2 separate regions of the Homo sapiens genome follow, and region 2 is linked to region 1. Evidence: promoter capture Hi-C in human tissues and cell types (Jung and others, 2019). All regions are on one chromosome and are shown on one strand. Each heading gives the region's core, a stretch centred on a gene start or on the middle of the fragment in contact. The rest is flanking DNA. Distances are from core to core; before and after follow the strand shown. Region 1 holds the start of PLSCR4 (phospholipid scramblase 4). Region 2 has its middle 20 kb from the start of PLSCR5-AS1.

Region 1 (7,767 bases), core at 2,694-5,193:
AATACTTGAGACTGAGTAATTTATAAAGAAAAGAGGTTTAATTGGTTCTGCAGGCTGTACAGGAAGCACTTGAGACTGGGTAATTTATAAAGAAAAGAGGTTTAATTGGCTCTGCAGGCTGTACAGGTTTAAATGGTTCTGCAGGCTGCACAGGAAGCACAGTGATACCATCTGCCTCTAGTGAGGCATCAAGAAGCTTACAATCACGGCAGAAAGCAAACGGGGAGCAGGTGTATTAATGGCAAGAGCTGGAGTGAGACAGAGAGGGGAGAGGACACACTCTTTTAAATAACCAGATCTCACAGGAACTACCAGAGCAAGAACACACTCATCACTAAGGCAATGGCACTAAGCCATTCACAGGAGATTCTCCCTTATAATCCAAACACCTCCCAACAGGCCACCTTTAACACTGGGGATTACATTTCAACATGAAATTTGGGAGGGACACAGATCCAAACCTTATCAAACAGTTATTATAAGTTAAAAAGTTAAGAAAATGATGGTCTTAGTGAATGAACAGATGTGAAATCTCATCAAAAGACATGGAAGCTGCACAAATGAACCAAATAGAAATACTAGCACTGAAAAGTGTTAATACTGTAATGGACTTAACAGTAGATTGAAATAAGGGTCAGCATATTTTTGAGACGGATCCATAGAAATTATTTAACTTAAAGAGAAAAAAATCAAAAAAATGTAAATAAAGTCTTGGTGAGCTGTGAGTCAGTATCATATGGTCCAACATACAATTAATTGAACTGAATTTCCAGAAGGAGAAGAGAGAGAAATGGGTATGGTGCAGTAAAGAAATAATGACTGCAAGTTTTTCAAATTTTGTGAATAATATCTACTTATGTATCTGTGAAACTCAGAAAACCACAGTAGAATACAGAAAGAAGCATACATCATAGACTAACTGCAGAAAAACCAATGATAAAAAGTTATTCTTAAAACCAACAATATGCATTCTGTCAGATAAAAATGGAGGTCAAAATTGTTGGGGAATAAAATAAAAAAAATCTGTACACCCAGAATTCTATAACCAGTAAAAATATCATTACAAAATTCATACAAAATAAAAACATTTTTAGATTTAAAAATCTAAAAAGATTTTGTCTGTAGCTGTTCTGCACTACAAGAAATACTAAAGGGACTAGGTATAGTGGCTCACACCTGTATCCCAGCACTTTGGTAGGTCAAGGCAGGCAGACTGCTTGAATCCAGGAGTTTTAGACCAGTCCATGTAACAAAGCCAAATCTTGTCTCCCCCCTCCAAAAAAAAAAAAAAAAATTAGCTGGGCATGGTGGCATGTGCCTGTAATCTCAGCTACTTGGGACGCTGAGGTGGAAGAATCACCTGAGCCCAGGAGGTCGAGGCCGCAGTGGGCTGAGGTTGTGCCACTGTACTCCAGCCTAGGCAACCAGAGTGAGACACTGTCTCAAAAATAACAAGAACTACTATAGGAAAGTCTCTAGCCTGAAGGTAAGTGATAATAGGTGAAATTAAGATCTATAAGAAAAAAAACGAGGAGCACAGGAAATTGTGTATATGTGGAAATATAGAAAAGCTATTTTCTTCTTTTAATTTCTGTAAAAGACAATGCACTAGTTAAGCAAAACTTAAAACATTTTGTTGTGTAAAGTCTATAATTAATGGGTATGTAAAATCTGATAGCATTTGCACATACAATTGAGGAACTGTAAAGTAATTATAAATTTCTTAACTTTATGTGAAGTGGTACATTATTAACTCTAAGTAGACTGTGGTAACCTAAGAACAACCAGTGAAAAGGAAATAACACGAAGAAATACACTTGGAGCAACAGAGCAACTAAAATGGGATTAGTATAAAAAGTAGTTAATTTGTCATCCCTCGAAATGTCCAGGTTGGAAAGTCATCAGATCAGGAAATTTCAGAAAAACAGGAAATTGAGTTCTTCTTCTTCCCCTCGAAAGTTGTGATTTGGGGTATATGACATACTTGATTTTATTTTAATCCCTCAAAGCAATATGTTTCACAAGACATGTTTTGCTCTTGAAATTTTTGGTATCTTCACGTGGCCACTGTGGATGTTTACATTCATAAGCTCAATTACTTGGCCTCTTTCATAAATTTTAAACAAAGGTAACATGCCGAGACCAGCTCAGTCGGGGAGACCCTAACCCAGCGGCGCTAGAGGAATTAAAGACACACACACAGAAATATAGAGGTGTCAAGTGGGAAATCAGGGGTGTCATAGCCTTCAGAGCTGACACCCCCGAACAGAGATTTACCCACGTATTAACAGCAAACCAGTCATTAGCATTGTTTCTATAGATGTTAAATTAACTAAAAGTATCCCTTAAGGGAAACGAAGGGATGGGCCGGATTAACTGCAGCAGGAACACGCCCTTAAGACACAGACCGCTCATGCTCATTGTTTGTGGCTTAACAATGCCTTTAAGCGGTTTTCGCCCTGAGCGGGCCAGGTGTTCCTCACCCTCACTCCCGTAAACCCACAACCTTCCAGCTTGGGCATTAGGGCCATTATGAACATGTTACAGTGCTGCAGAGATTTTGTTTATGGCCAGTCTTGGGGCCAGTTTATGGCCAGATTTTGGGGGGCTTGCTCCCAACAGTAACATATGCTATTATAATTTAGTTTCACCACCAGTTTCTTTGTTTTATGCTTTCAGTAAAACACTATGTCTGCATCTGAGAAATGTTCTGTGCAATTATTACTGAGAAGAACAGTATGAATTTTTTAATCTATTCTCACATGAATATTAACAAATAACACACATACAAAGAAAAATATAAAATTCTAGAACTCCACTCCCACATCCCTTCCCCTTTCCAACCTTCTCCCACAATGGGGTTCTGCCAAGTACTCCTCAGAGCTTAATCAAGCTTACTTCTGTCCAGTTCTGATTCTTTATAAGGTCAGAGGACCTTCAGTTCTCCCACTTCCTGTCAGTGTATTGTGCTTCTCTCCAAGCACCACCACAGAACTGAATCCCATTGGTCTGAAAGAAATATTTGTGCCTAACAGTAATAAGCAAATGGCATTTTTCTCCCAATGTCAGAAAACATGGGCAACCTGCTCCCTTTCCCCTTTATTGGCGTCTCTCCCGCCTTCCCTCCAAGATCAAATTGGCCTCCCCCAATTCTGTGGAAAAGAAAACAGAATTTCTGGGCCCTATGCCCAAGTGTTTCCAGCCAGCACGGCATTGCCAAGGCTAAATCACCAAGCCAAGGACCTGGGGGTGGGCGCAAATGCAAATCAAAAAGGCTCTTGAGGCCGGGTGCAGTGGCTCACGCCTGTAATCCCAGCACTTTTGGAGGCCGAGGCGGGCGGATCACGAGGTCAGGAGATCGAAACCATCCTGGCTAACACGGTGAAACCCCGTCTCTAGTAAAAAATACAAAAAATTAGCCGGGCGTGGTGGCGGGCGCCTGTAGTCCCAGCTGCTAGGGAGGCTGAGGCAGGAGAATGGCCTGAACCTGGGAGGCGGAGCTTGCAGTGAGCCGAGATCGCGCCACTGCACTCCAGCCTGGGCGACAGAGTGAGACTCCGTATCAAAAATAAAAATAAAAAAATAAAAAAGGCTCTTGAGAAAGAGGGGTTTCTTCATTTTCTCTCTAGGCGCAGTAATCTATGAACAAAGCTCCCTTTCCCAGGCCCTGCAACCTGCCCCTCTGATTGGAAGTGACCGTGGGCTGGCTTTTATCTTTTCTTTCACCTCTTATTAGAGTAGTGACAACTTATTTTCTTCATTTCTTCCTCCCCCTCGGCTTTTAGGTTTCAGCGGACTTCAGGGTGCCCCACCTCTTCCAGGAAGACGCTCCCCCGGGCTGGCGGCTCTCCCAGCGCGGGGCGGGGTCCGAGACGGGGAAGCCGCGCGCGGGGAAGGAGGGTCCAGGCGTGCCGGACCCGCCCCCAGAACCCGCGCCTAGCCCTCCCTTCCGCGCGCTTACTTTGTTTATAACTTGAAAAATCCTCTCCGTCTCCCTTCCCTGCCTCCTTTCCTTTCCCTTTCCTCTGCCAGTACAACTAGACCCGGCGTCTGGCGTCCCCGGTGCCCAGCATTCTGCGGGGCAGGCGGTGAGTGGGGCTGGACAGGCGGGCGCAGAGCAGGACAGGGTGGCGCGGGCGCCCGGGCTGCGGGGCCGAGGGCGTCGTCAGGGGAGGCCCGAGGCCGCGGTGCCTGCGGGCAGGCGCGGAGGTTGCGCGGCGTCCTGCGCTAGCAGTTCCCGGACACTGCGCTCGCGTCGCATCCTCAGGTGGTTGCAGAAGTTCCGTGGTGTCGGGCGCGCGTCTGCACTGCAGACGCAGAGGGTTTGGGAGCGAGCAGTTTCCTGCCCAGGGATGGGGGTCCTGGCTGCACTTCACGGGGGCGGCCCTTTCGTTTCGCTCTGCGTGACAGGTCTCGCTTGATTGGGTTTCTCATGGGTCTCTGGCGTTTCTACGGCGCGGCTCTCACGGACTCAGGCCAGGCCACTCGCAGGTAAAAACGCTATTTATAGTAACTTTTTAATTGCTCAGCGAGTGGAGGCGGTGACAGGAGAGAATCCCTCTCTCTTATTTCCAATTCTGGCAAACTGGGGCGATTTGGGGCTGTGCTTGATTTGTTTTTAAAAACGTTCATATTTAAAGACTTAGGATTTTATTTTGTGGCCTTATCTTCTCTTAGGATCTACAATTTAGTTTTTAATTTTATACTGCATTTAGAATGGAGCCACCAAAATAAGTACTTGTGAAGATATAATGCACCAAACTTGATACTGCTTAAAGGGGAATAGATTGCCTAATTTAAATTGCATTCTCCTGTAATAGTAATAGAACACAACCTCCATCTGTCTATCTGCTCTCATGGATAGCTGTGAAATACTAGCAGCATTTCCATTAAATTTGAAAAAGACAAGAATGCTAATCATTACACTCTGTGACATGGTTGTGAATTCTATGGGCGAGTGACAACAGGTAGGGGAACATATTATCACTTTATGCATGATGTGAGTGTATACCTTAATGTCCATAGGAAACACTGAAATTTGATGGGAAGCATAAGTGAATTTATCAAAGTTTCCAATTGCATCATACTTAATTTATAGAAGTCAGTTGATGTTTATACATAAACTAGATAATACAGTAAAATAAAGTAAAATTCAGTTTGGCATGAAATAACACACAATTGAGAAATTATTTTTAAGAAGATATAAAAAGGTATGTATGAGAATCCAATAAAATACATAACATTCTTCTAGGTAAAGATATCATTTCTCTAAAACAACGTATAAGTAGAATCCTAACTGAATATTTTTGTTACTGTTTTTAACTGTACTGTTTAGCTCATGTGGAAGAACAAACATATTAACGTTATGTATAATATATTACAAATAATAAAATACAAAATATATAATTATGTCTTATTTTATATATTATATATGATTTTAACATTTAATATTATACATACACACATATATATAGTGGAGACTTCTTCATATAATAAAAGGTGTTACAAAACTGTGGTGATTAAAAGACAGTGCAGTAGACCTACTACCAGATGTGTAAATGAAACTGAAGAGACATGGAAGAATAAAAGGAAAGCTGGCATTTGATAAGCATACATTTTAAATCACTGGGTGGGAAGAAGAAATAACATTTAATTGAATGTACTTGGACAAGCAGGAATTTGTTTGGGAAACCTAATAATAAAACTGGAACTTTTCCTCACTGTTAATAGACAAATGTAGTCTAGATGGCTTACTAGTTTAAATCTAAACATATGCAGCCTAAAAAGGGAAAAAGAAAGCCTGAATAGATATTTGTGCACATTGCATGTGGGAAAAGCATTTCTAAGCATAATACAAAAACCTAGACCCATTTAGGGACATGATTTTTATTAACATTTGCATCCCCCAAAAAAGATACAAACTGCGGACATTGTTAATAGAAAAAAAAAGATAATTTTGCTAATATACCTAGAAATCTTATTAATGACCTTCAAAATCAATGACCCAGTTAAGGATAAAAAGAGTCAACTCAAAGCAAAAGAAATGCAAATAATAAGCAGAGTGAATACTGTTAGCCACACTAATTATCCAAAACATATATGAAGTAAGACATCAATTTTTGCATTAATTTTACAAATTTTGAAAGTCTGATAACTTTAGGTGTTGTTGAAAATGCAGTGAGGAAAATATAATTTTACAAACTTTTAGTGGAAATGTGAATTGGTGAAGCTGTTTTAGGGTTAAAGCTGTTCAGATTTACAAATGTTCATTTACTTAACTGGAATTTATCCAGCAAAACATGCTCCCAAGTGTACAAATAAAAATCTCTGTCAAAGATGTTTAAAGTAGGATTGTTTACAATGTAGAAAACATGGATACAGCTCTGTAGCCATTGATTGGGAATTGGTTACATAATGTATGGTATATTCAAAGGTGGAATAATATACAGTTTAAAACATTGTAGCTCTAAATGTTCTAACTTGGAAATATGTCCAAAACATAAAGTTAAAACACAAAATGAAACAACAAGTTGAAACACTGTGTGTGTGTGTGTGTGTCTGTGTGTGTGTAGTGTAGTAATTATATTTTTGTAAATAATTTGGAATATAGGCTGAATTATATTGTGAGTAGTGATGTTTTACACACAGCCGAATTATATTATTATGAGTAGTGATGTTGTTTTACACATTTCTATAATGTATGCGTGTGTATAAGGAAAAATTGATAGTGATAGTAATTTATACAGAACATTGCCTTCTTGAATATATTAGCTGTCATTTACTACAGAAGAAATATATTTCACAAAACCTTTCATATTGTCTCATTTTTTTTCTTTTATAAGTGTCCTCTTTCAGCTGCTTCCTTTAAAATCCCCTTCCTTAATATTGATGTTTATGATGTTTATTGCAAGAACAGCAGTGAAGAATTTTGCTTGAGGGATTTCACAACCAGTTAACTTTTATAAACAAAAAATACAGCAATGTTCATACTCATATGTTCACCAGCATTGTGCTAAAATTCATTTTTATAGTACTCATTCTTCAGGATGAAAGAGATAGATATGCTAGTCCTTAAAAAGAAAAACATCTAAAGTTGGAAAAAAATTGTTTTTAATTGCATGGTAAGGCTGGGTGGCGGTAGCTCACGCCCGTTATCACAGTACTTTGAGAGGCAGGGGTGGGCAGATTGTTTTAGCCCAGGAGTTTGAGAGCAGCCTGGGAAACATGGCGATACCCCACCTCTAAAAAAATTTAAAAATTAGCCAGGCATGGTGGCACCCACCTGTAGTGCCAGCTGCTCAGGAGGCTGAGGTAGGACAATTGATTGAGCCTGGGAGGTCAAGGCTGCAGTGAGCCATTATCATGCCACTGCACTCCAGCATGGGCAACAGAAAGAGACCCTGCCTCAAAAATAAAACTGCATGACAAAAATGCAGTGAAGACAAATGATAAGTTTTGAAAAGATAATTTTAATATAAAATTTTAATACCTTTCATATAAAGAAGACAAATGAAAAGCTAACAAAAATGAACAAATGACAAACAGGCAGTTCACAGAAATAGAGTTGCAAATTGCTTTCAAACAAATAATAAAAGTGGCTCAGCCTCCTCATTATGAGATATATGGAAAATAAAACCAATTTTTTTTTTTTATATATCAGATTGACTACTACAAAAATGTTGATAAAATACTGTATTAGGAATGTAACTTTTTGTCTGGGGTCTAAATTGATTCAAATTCTTTAGAGTGCAGTTTGATAGTATCTTT
Region 2 (7,767 bases), core at 3,535-6,034, 320 kb before region 1:
ATGTATTGGTCTTGAGGTGCTTATGGAACATCAAAGTCCAGAAAATTTGCAAGTACCTGCCAGGAGAATGCTCTAGCTTAAAGTTTTGAACTTAGAAAGTTAAACTATGAGTGCGTGACATAAAACCTTGAAGCTATATAGCAGGAAAAGATAAGTGTCAAAAGTCGAAGAAAGCCTTGGGACACCATACTTTAAAGAATAGAAGAGTCCACAAGGGACAGAGCAAAATTACCTGGAGAATAGCAGGAAAAACAAAAGTCTGATGCTTTAGAAATTAAGAGAGGAGAGATTTCTATAAAGTGGGCAGTGATTAACCAGGCTAAATGCTACAGCGAGTTAACAAAAAGATAGGATTTAGTTATTTTCTTTGGATTTAGATCTTAGAATATTAGGCCTTGGAGAAGGCAGTTTAAATTTATTTTGTTGAGGGTCCTAATTTAATGCATCTGGGCAAAATGAAAAGCAAGAAAGCAGATAAAATGGGTGACTTTTAAAAATGTAACAAAAATAACTTGGAATTAACATAAAAAGGTAGTAACAACCACAATGATCTGGCAGAGGGTAGCACTGCCAGGTCCTAATGAAGCAGGGACTATTTTATTTTGCTGCAGAGGAATTACTGGAAATATAAGCAAAGCCCAGAGAATAATAATATAAAAACAGCTTAATAAACCTGTTATTCTGGTAAGAGTGAGGTACTTATTCCAGAATCAAAAGCCTGAACATTATGCTGATCATGAGTTAAAAGATTAAGCTCAGATATAACTTTTCTGGAGTTATAGAAAAAACACAAAGAAAAATGAAGAATTAGATAAAGAATTAGAGCTTCTAACTTTCAATAAATTCTTCTATATGGGTTGCATGCAAAGCCAGATGTCATGGTTCCATATTAGATTTTAGAAAATATAATTTATCTATTAAAGTTAGCAGTTAAAATTTTAATTATGTAGAACCTAATTATAGAATTAGAAAATAATTTAGAACAGAATGTAGTCTGGATATTGACATATTGTATTTACATTAAAATTGTATCTGTCATTCTAAGGGAAGAAATTATTTCTTCTTGTGTGTTCACAACTGTCACTATCTTATTCCTAAGCCTGCTTATTCTCCCTGACACTAGCCTCTCCATCTTACAGTCCATTCTCCATATAATTGCTAGATTAATCTTTTTTTTTTCTTTTTTTTTGAGATGGAGTCTCCTGAGACACCAGGCTGGAGTGCAGTGGTGTGATTTCAGCTCCCTGCAACCTCCACCTCCTGGGTTCAAGTGATTCTCCTGCCTCAGCCTCCCAAGTTGCTGGGACTACAGTTTTGTTTTGTTGTTGTTGTTGTTGTTGTTTTGTGGGTATTTTTTTTTTTTTTTTGTATTTTAGTAGAGATGGGGTTTCACCATGTTGGCCAGGATGGTCTCCATCTCCTGACCTGATGACCCACCCTCCTAGGCCTCTCAAAGTGCTGGGATTACAGGCGTAAGCCACCGCGCCCGGCCTGGATTGATCTTTTAAAACCAAGTGTCTGAAAGTGCCTTTTAAAGTTCAAAATGGCGCACTGAAAATAACTTGTCTCTCCTCTCTCCTAAGTCCACAATACAATTATAGCAAATGCAAATGCTGATAGAAAAAACAACCTCTCAAATTTACCTCACAAATTTTCGTGTCATCCTTGTGCAGGGACCATGCTAATCTTCTCTGTATCGTTCCAATTTTGGTATATGTGCTGCCAAAGCAAGCACAGGATATTTTTAAAAAGATATTCATAAATTCTAGGCTGAAGTTCCAAGTCATATTGGAACACTGATAGATGGAGGAATATGTGAGCCTATCATTCAGATTAAATGTGCACATGTGAACAGTCTATGATGGAGAAAAGTCCTTATCCCAGGGAGCTACCTGGCTCAAAGACAGCAATACCAGGCAAGGTGGGAGTACGAAGAACAACTCAAAACAGAGTTAATTGAAAGTCTGTATAATGAAATATGCTAGTCAGGTGTCCCACACCAACCTCACTGCTAGTCTCTTCCTTATCTCAATGAACACTAAGCCTAAGCAGCCCAGCATTATACTTTCAGGAATCCAAATTAGTACTCTTATTGAATCTTAATTAATTGCACAGGGAGAACTAAGGTTTTGAAGTTTCTGGAATGGCTTCCCATGCCAAAGGATGGCACTCTCCTCATTTTAGCATCCAAAGAGCGATCTCCTCACCTGCTCACCCTAATTGTGATAAGCACTGTCTCTACCTTGGTTCCCAGTCCTAGTCCTACTAGTGGGAGAGACCTAGTAGAAAAATGGACATATACGACAGAGAAAAATAACAAGAGTCACCGGTCTTCCATTCTTAAATATAAGTGAACTAAGAACCACTACATATATGAAGCATAGAAAACCAAGACAACCAAAAAATAGGTGACCAATGAAGAAACAAATGTAAATCAAAAAACATAAAAAAATTTTAAAAACAAAATTCTACTGTATTTTGAGGAATTTGAAAAATTAATACATCCATTAAGGAAGGACAAGAGGGTCTGAAAAATAAATAAAAGGAAATGTAAATTACACATGCAATATAAACATATTACTACGTTCCTGGAATGGCTATGATTTAATATAATAATCCAAAGAAAATTTTCATTTTCTATTTGAATTAAGAGTTTTCACTCCCTTTCCAGGAAATATTTTAACATAAGTTCTAATAAGAAGCATAATCCACACATTTTAAATATTATGTCTTTTAATTCTCAAAAGAAGGTAAATATCAGCAATGAAGACATCACTAACCAAAACAAAGTAGTCAAAACATGTAGATTTCACATAAACAAATGTATAATCAGTTGCTGACTGTTTTGCTTACATATACTTAATAAATGCACCAGTCACTGTGCACTTTGGCACAAGAATTAGGAGCCAGATTTGTGTATTGGTAAAATAAAATAAAACAGAAGCTTAATTTTTTGTTTGATTTCATAACACTATAAAAGAAAGAAAAGAAAAATTGTAAATGTATAATCCACATGAATGATTCACAAACTGTCACAAGTAATTGACAAACTGCTAGCTGTTTTCTTAGATATTAGTATTACTTTTCTGAAACAAATAAAAATTCTATCAAATATATATATATTATAAAACATTTCCAGCTATAGGAAATTAATGTTATCTCCTTCTTACCCACAGTCTTTAATAACCACTATGAATGAACTATTCAAATTTTCCATGAGATGAATGTACAAAAACATTATTGTATTGCTTTGTATTATAAATAACATGGATTTTGCAAAAATAAATACCATAAGTAAAGTAGAATGGATTTTTTAAAACATGCATTCAATAATTATAAAAAGATTTACAGTGAGTCACTCTTAGAGTAAACTCTTTGGTATGACTTATGATTCTTTTTCATTGTAGAAGGTAAAACATATTTCAACTTTTGATATTCAACTTTTAATTCTATCCCTTTGTTCTCACAAAATAGGGTCCACCATGTGCATTTATGAATGCAACAGACGTTTATATAGGCACATCACTCACTGTATTTATGCCTGGTTGTGGCTTCCAGAGAATACCAAAATGTAAATATCTTTGCAAGATGGAATGTTTCCGTTATTCAAACTGCAAATTGAACAGCTGTGAGGGCTGAGGAATTATCAAAAATCACCACACAGGATGCAGATTTTAATTCCTGCCCTTCACACATTTATGCACAATTACAAGAACAAGAAAACAAAAACAAACCTGCACATGTATTAGCCTACAAGAGAGGGAGGCAGTGAAACCTCAATGTTGAAAAGCTGAAATACGAGTATAACACCTTTCAAATTCAATTCTGAAGCAAAAAGAATTACATCTTAATTTTAAATCTCAGCCTGACTAACTTTATTCAAATTTAACTATGCTTGAGGCACTCTGATTTTCCTGCATTCATTTATGCTTTTCCCTCTCCCTTAGTACATTTTTTTTCTATTTTTCTACCTGCCCAAATGCTCTTCATATTTAGTTTTTGTTTTTATTTTTGAGGCAGGGTCTCACTGTCACCCATGCTGGAGGGCAGTTGTGTGATTACAGCTTATTGCAGCCCTGAATTCTGGGCTTAAGAAATCTTCCCACCTCATCCTCCTTGAATAGCTGAGACCATAGACACATGCCAGTATACCCTGCTAATTTTTTTTTTTTTTTTTTTTTTTTTTTGTAGAAATGGGATCTCAGTATCTTGCTCAGGCTGGTCTCAAACTCCTGTCCTCAACCGATTCTCAGTAAGCCTCGCAAAGTGCTGAACAGGCATGAGCCACCATGCCTGATTTACTTTATCTTTTAATGTCAACACAGTTTCTGCCTCAAAATTGTTCTCTAATTTTTGTCCAGTGTGTGTTACTTTCTCCATTCACTTCATGCAAAAAAAAAAAGTAATGGTAAGTTTATTATGAAATTACCATATTCTACTGTGTATTACAGCTATTTACTTTCTGTCTCTGATGCACTTTCTTTATTAGACTGTGAGCTCGTTCTGGGCAGGATTTGACTCAGAACCATTTTTGTGTCTGTTCCCCATGGTGTCAAGAACACTGTGCTTTGGATATAATTAATTTCCATAAACATCAATTGTCTTATTGTATACCAGATGAAAAATTTAAGCAGATACTTGTAATATCAAAGACTTGACTAATATTCATCATTGAAATTTCACAATGGAGAGTATGTCAATCATCCATTACAACTTTCCATGTAAAATGAACAAACAAACAAACAGGAGTTTTATGTAACTACAAGCTCAGGCAACTGCCTAGAAAGCCAAACATTTACCGAGATAAATTGACAGAAATGTATGTCCATAACATAGGGGTAGCTATGGCACTGCATGTGTCAATAATTGAAATGGTTTGGCTGTATCCCCACCCAAATTTTACCTTGAATTGTAATAATTTTCATGTGTCAAGGGTGGGGCCAGGTGGAGATAATTGAAAAATGGGGTCAGTTTCCCTCATACTGTTCTTCTGGTAGTGAATAAGTCTCATGAAATTTGATGGTTTTATAAATAGAAGTACCCCTGCACAAGCTCTCTTTCTTGCCACCATGTAAGACGTCCCTTTGCTCTTCTTTAATCTTCTGCCATGATTGTGAGGCCTCCCCAGTCATGTGGAACAGTGAGTCCATTAAACCTCTTTCCTTTATAAATTTCCTTTATACCAGTCTAAGGTATGTCTTTATTAGCAGCATCAGAATAGACTGATAAGTAAATTGGTACAGGGTAGTGGGGTGCTGCTGTAAAAATACCCAAAAATGTGGAAGTGACTTTGGAACTGGTTAACAGGCAAGGATTGGAACAGTTTGGAGGACTCCAAAGAAGACACGAAAATGTGGGAAAGTTTGGAACCTCCTAGAGACTTGTTGAATGGCTTTGACCAAAATGATGATAGTGATATGGGCAATAAGGTCCAGGCTGATGTGGCCTCAGAAGGAAATGAGAAACTTGTTGGAACTGGAGCAAAGGTGACTCTCTATGTTTTAGCAAAGAGACAGGTGGCATCTTGCCCCCGCCCTAGAGATCTGTGGAACTTTGAACTTGAGAGAAATGATTTAGGCCATCTGGTAGAAGAAATTTCTAAGCAGCAAAGTGTTAAAGAGGTGACTTGCGTACTGTTAAAAGCATTTGGTTTTATGCACTCACAAAGATATGGTTTGGAATTGAAACTTATGTTTAAAAAAGAAGCAGATCATGAAAGTTCAGAACATTTGCAGCCTGACAATGTGATAGAAAACCCATTTTCTGAGGAGAAATTCAAGCCAGCTGCAGAAATTCTCATACATAACAAGCAGCCAAATGTTAATCACCAAGACAATGGGAAAAATGTCTACAGGGCAGTACAAAGGCCTTCACGGCAGCCCTTCCCATTACAAACTAGGAGACTTAGGATGAAGAAATGGTTTCCATAGGCCGGGCCAGGGCCTTGCTGCTTTATGCAGTCTCAGGACTTGGTTCCCTGCATCCCAGCTGTGGCTAAAAGGGGCCAACGTACAGCTCAGGCCGTTGCTTCAGAGGGTGCAAGCCCCAAGTCTTGGTGGCTTACACGCAGTGTTGGGCCTGCAGGTACATGGAAATCAAGAATTGAGGTTTGGGAACCTCCATTTAGATTTCAGAGGATGTATATAAATGCCTGGATGTTGAGGTGGAAGTCAGCTGCGAGAGTGGAGCCCTCACTGCTAGGGCAATGTGGAAGGGAAATGCGGGGTGGGAGCCCCCACACAGCATCCCCACTGGGGCACTGCCTAGTGGAGCTGTGAGAAGAGGGCCACTGTCCTCCAGACCCCAGAACAGTAGATCCACTGACACATTGCACCATACACCTGGAAAAGTTGCAGTCAGTCAAAGCCAGCCCAGGAAAGCAGCTGGGAGGCGGGCTTTACCCTGCAAAACCACAAGGGCAGAGTTCCCAAGACCATAGGAACCCACCTCTTGCATCACTATAACCTGGATGTGAGACATGGAGTCAAAGGGGATCATTTTAGAGCTTTCAGATTTTACTGCCTCACTGGATTTCAGATTTGTGTGGGGCCTGTAACCTCTTCATTTTGGCCAATTTCTGCCATTTGAAATGCATGTATTTACCCAATGCCTGTACCCCCATTGTATCTAGGAAGTAGCTAACTTGCTTTTGATTTTACAGGCTCATAGGCAGAGGGCAGGCTCTGAGACATCTGCCTTGTCTCAGATGAGACTCTGGACTGTGGACTTTTGAGTTAATGCTGTAATAAGTCAAGAAGTTGGGTGACTGTTGGGAAGCATGATTGGTTTTGAAATGTGAGAACATGAGATGTTGGAAGGGCAGGGGTGGAATGATATGGTTTGGCTGTGTTCCCACCCAAATCTCATCTTGAATTGTACTAATCTCCAGGTGTCAAGGGTGGGGCCAGGTGGAGATAATTGAATCACAGGGGTGGTTTCCCCCATATTGTTCTCATAGTAGTGAATAAGTCTCATGAGGTCTGATGGTTTTATAAACAAAAGTTCCCCTGCACAAGGTATCTTGCCTACCACCATGTAAGATGTGTCTTTGCTCTTCCTTTGTCTTCTACCATAATTGTGAGGCCTCCCCAGCCATGTGGAACTGCGAGGCCATCAAACCTCTTCCCTTTATAAATTACCTAGTCTCAGTTAGGCCTTTATTTACAGTGTGAGAACAGACTAATACAGTGATATTACATCTTGGATGTTACAAACACTATTATTATTTTTTCTTCAGTAGTAAAATATCTAAACTGTAGTTTTAGAATTTGGAACACATAAATATAACATATATTATAAAACATAAAATGGGTTTGGGCAATATCAAAATATGAGTGTCACTCAGTAACTTAAAAACAAAATCTTAAGTTGTATTAACTTCCAAATTTTATGTCTACTCAATAGATAAACAGGTTATTCATTGGTTGACACCTGGGAGGACTAAATAATACATATTCACTATTCTGATGATATTTCTAGGAGACCAAAAAAAACTGGTAATAGAACATAAAAAATGTTCTGTGGAGAAATTAAATAGTTAAAGAACAAAAAGAAACCTCTACAAATTTTGGAAATACCTCAAAAAATCATATTTTAAACAAATCACCATATAGTGTGGAAAATTGATGGGCAAGCCCTGCTGCTGAGATCTGCTATTTTACTTCCTCTGGCATAAATATAAATATACTATCTGAAAATCCCCAGACATTTAAGAAAATCCTCAGAAAAACAAAAATCAAAACATAAAATAAACAGAGACATTGCGAG

The links. The method cuts DNA at HindIII sites, captures the fragments that hold promoters and counts their contacts. A contact is called where the count stands out against the background at its distance.
Region 2: a fragment that was not itself captured here is called in contact with the fragment with the promoter of PLSCR4 in region 1 in 2 of the 25 tissues and cell types used here (mesenchymal stem cells and neural progenitor cells).

What each region holds. Positions count from the first base shown.
Region 1 is chr3:146,247,281-146,255,047 of GRCh38, reverse strand. PLSCR4 (phospholipid scramblase 4) reads left to right here and starts at 3,943. Exons shown (of 9, transcript NM_020353.3): 1 at 3,943-4,088. The HindIII fragment of the contact is 8,514 bases long and covers 1,546-7,767 here.
Region 2 is chr3:146,565,445-146,573,211 of GRCh38, reverse strand. It overlaps the pseudogene RNU6-428P. Among named protein-coding and RNA genes, the nearest start is that of PLSCR5-AS1, 20 kb to the left of the region's middle. The HindIII fragment of the contact is 7,756 bases long and covers 907-7,767 here.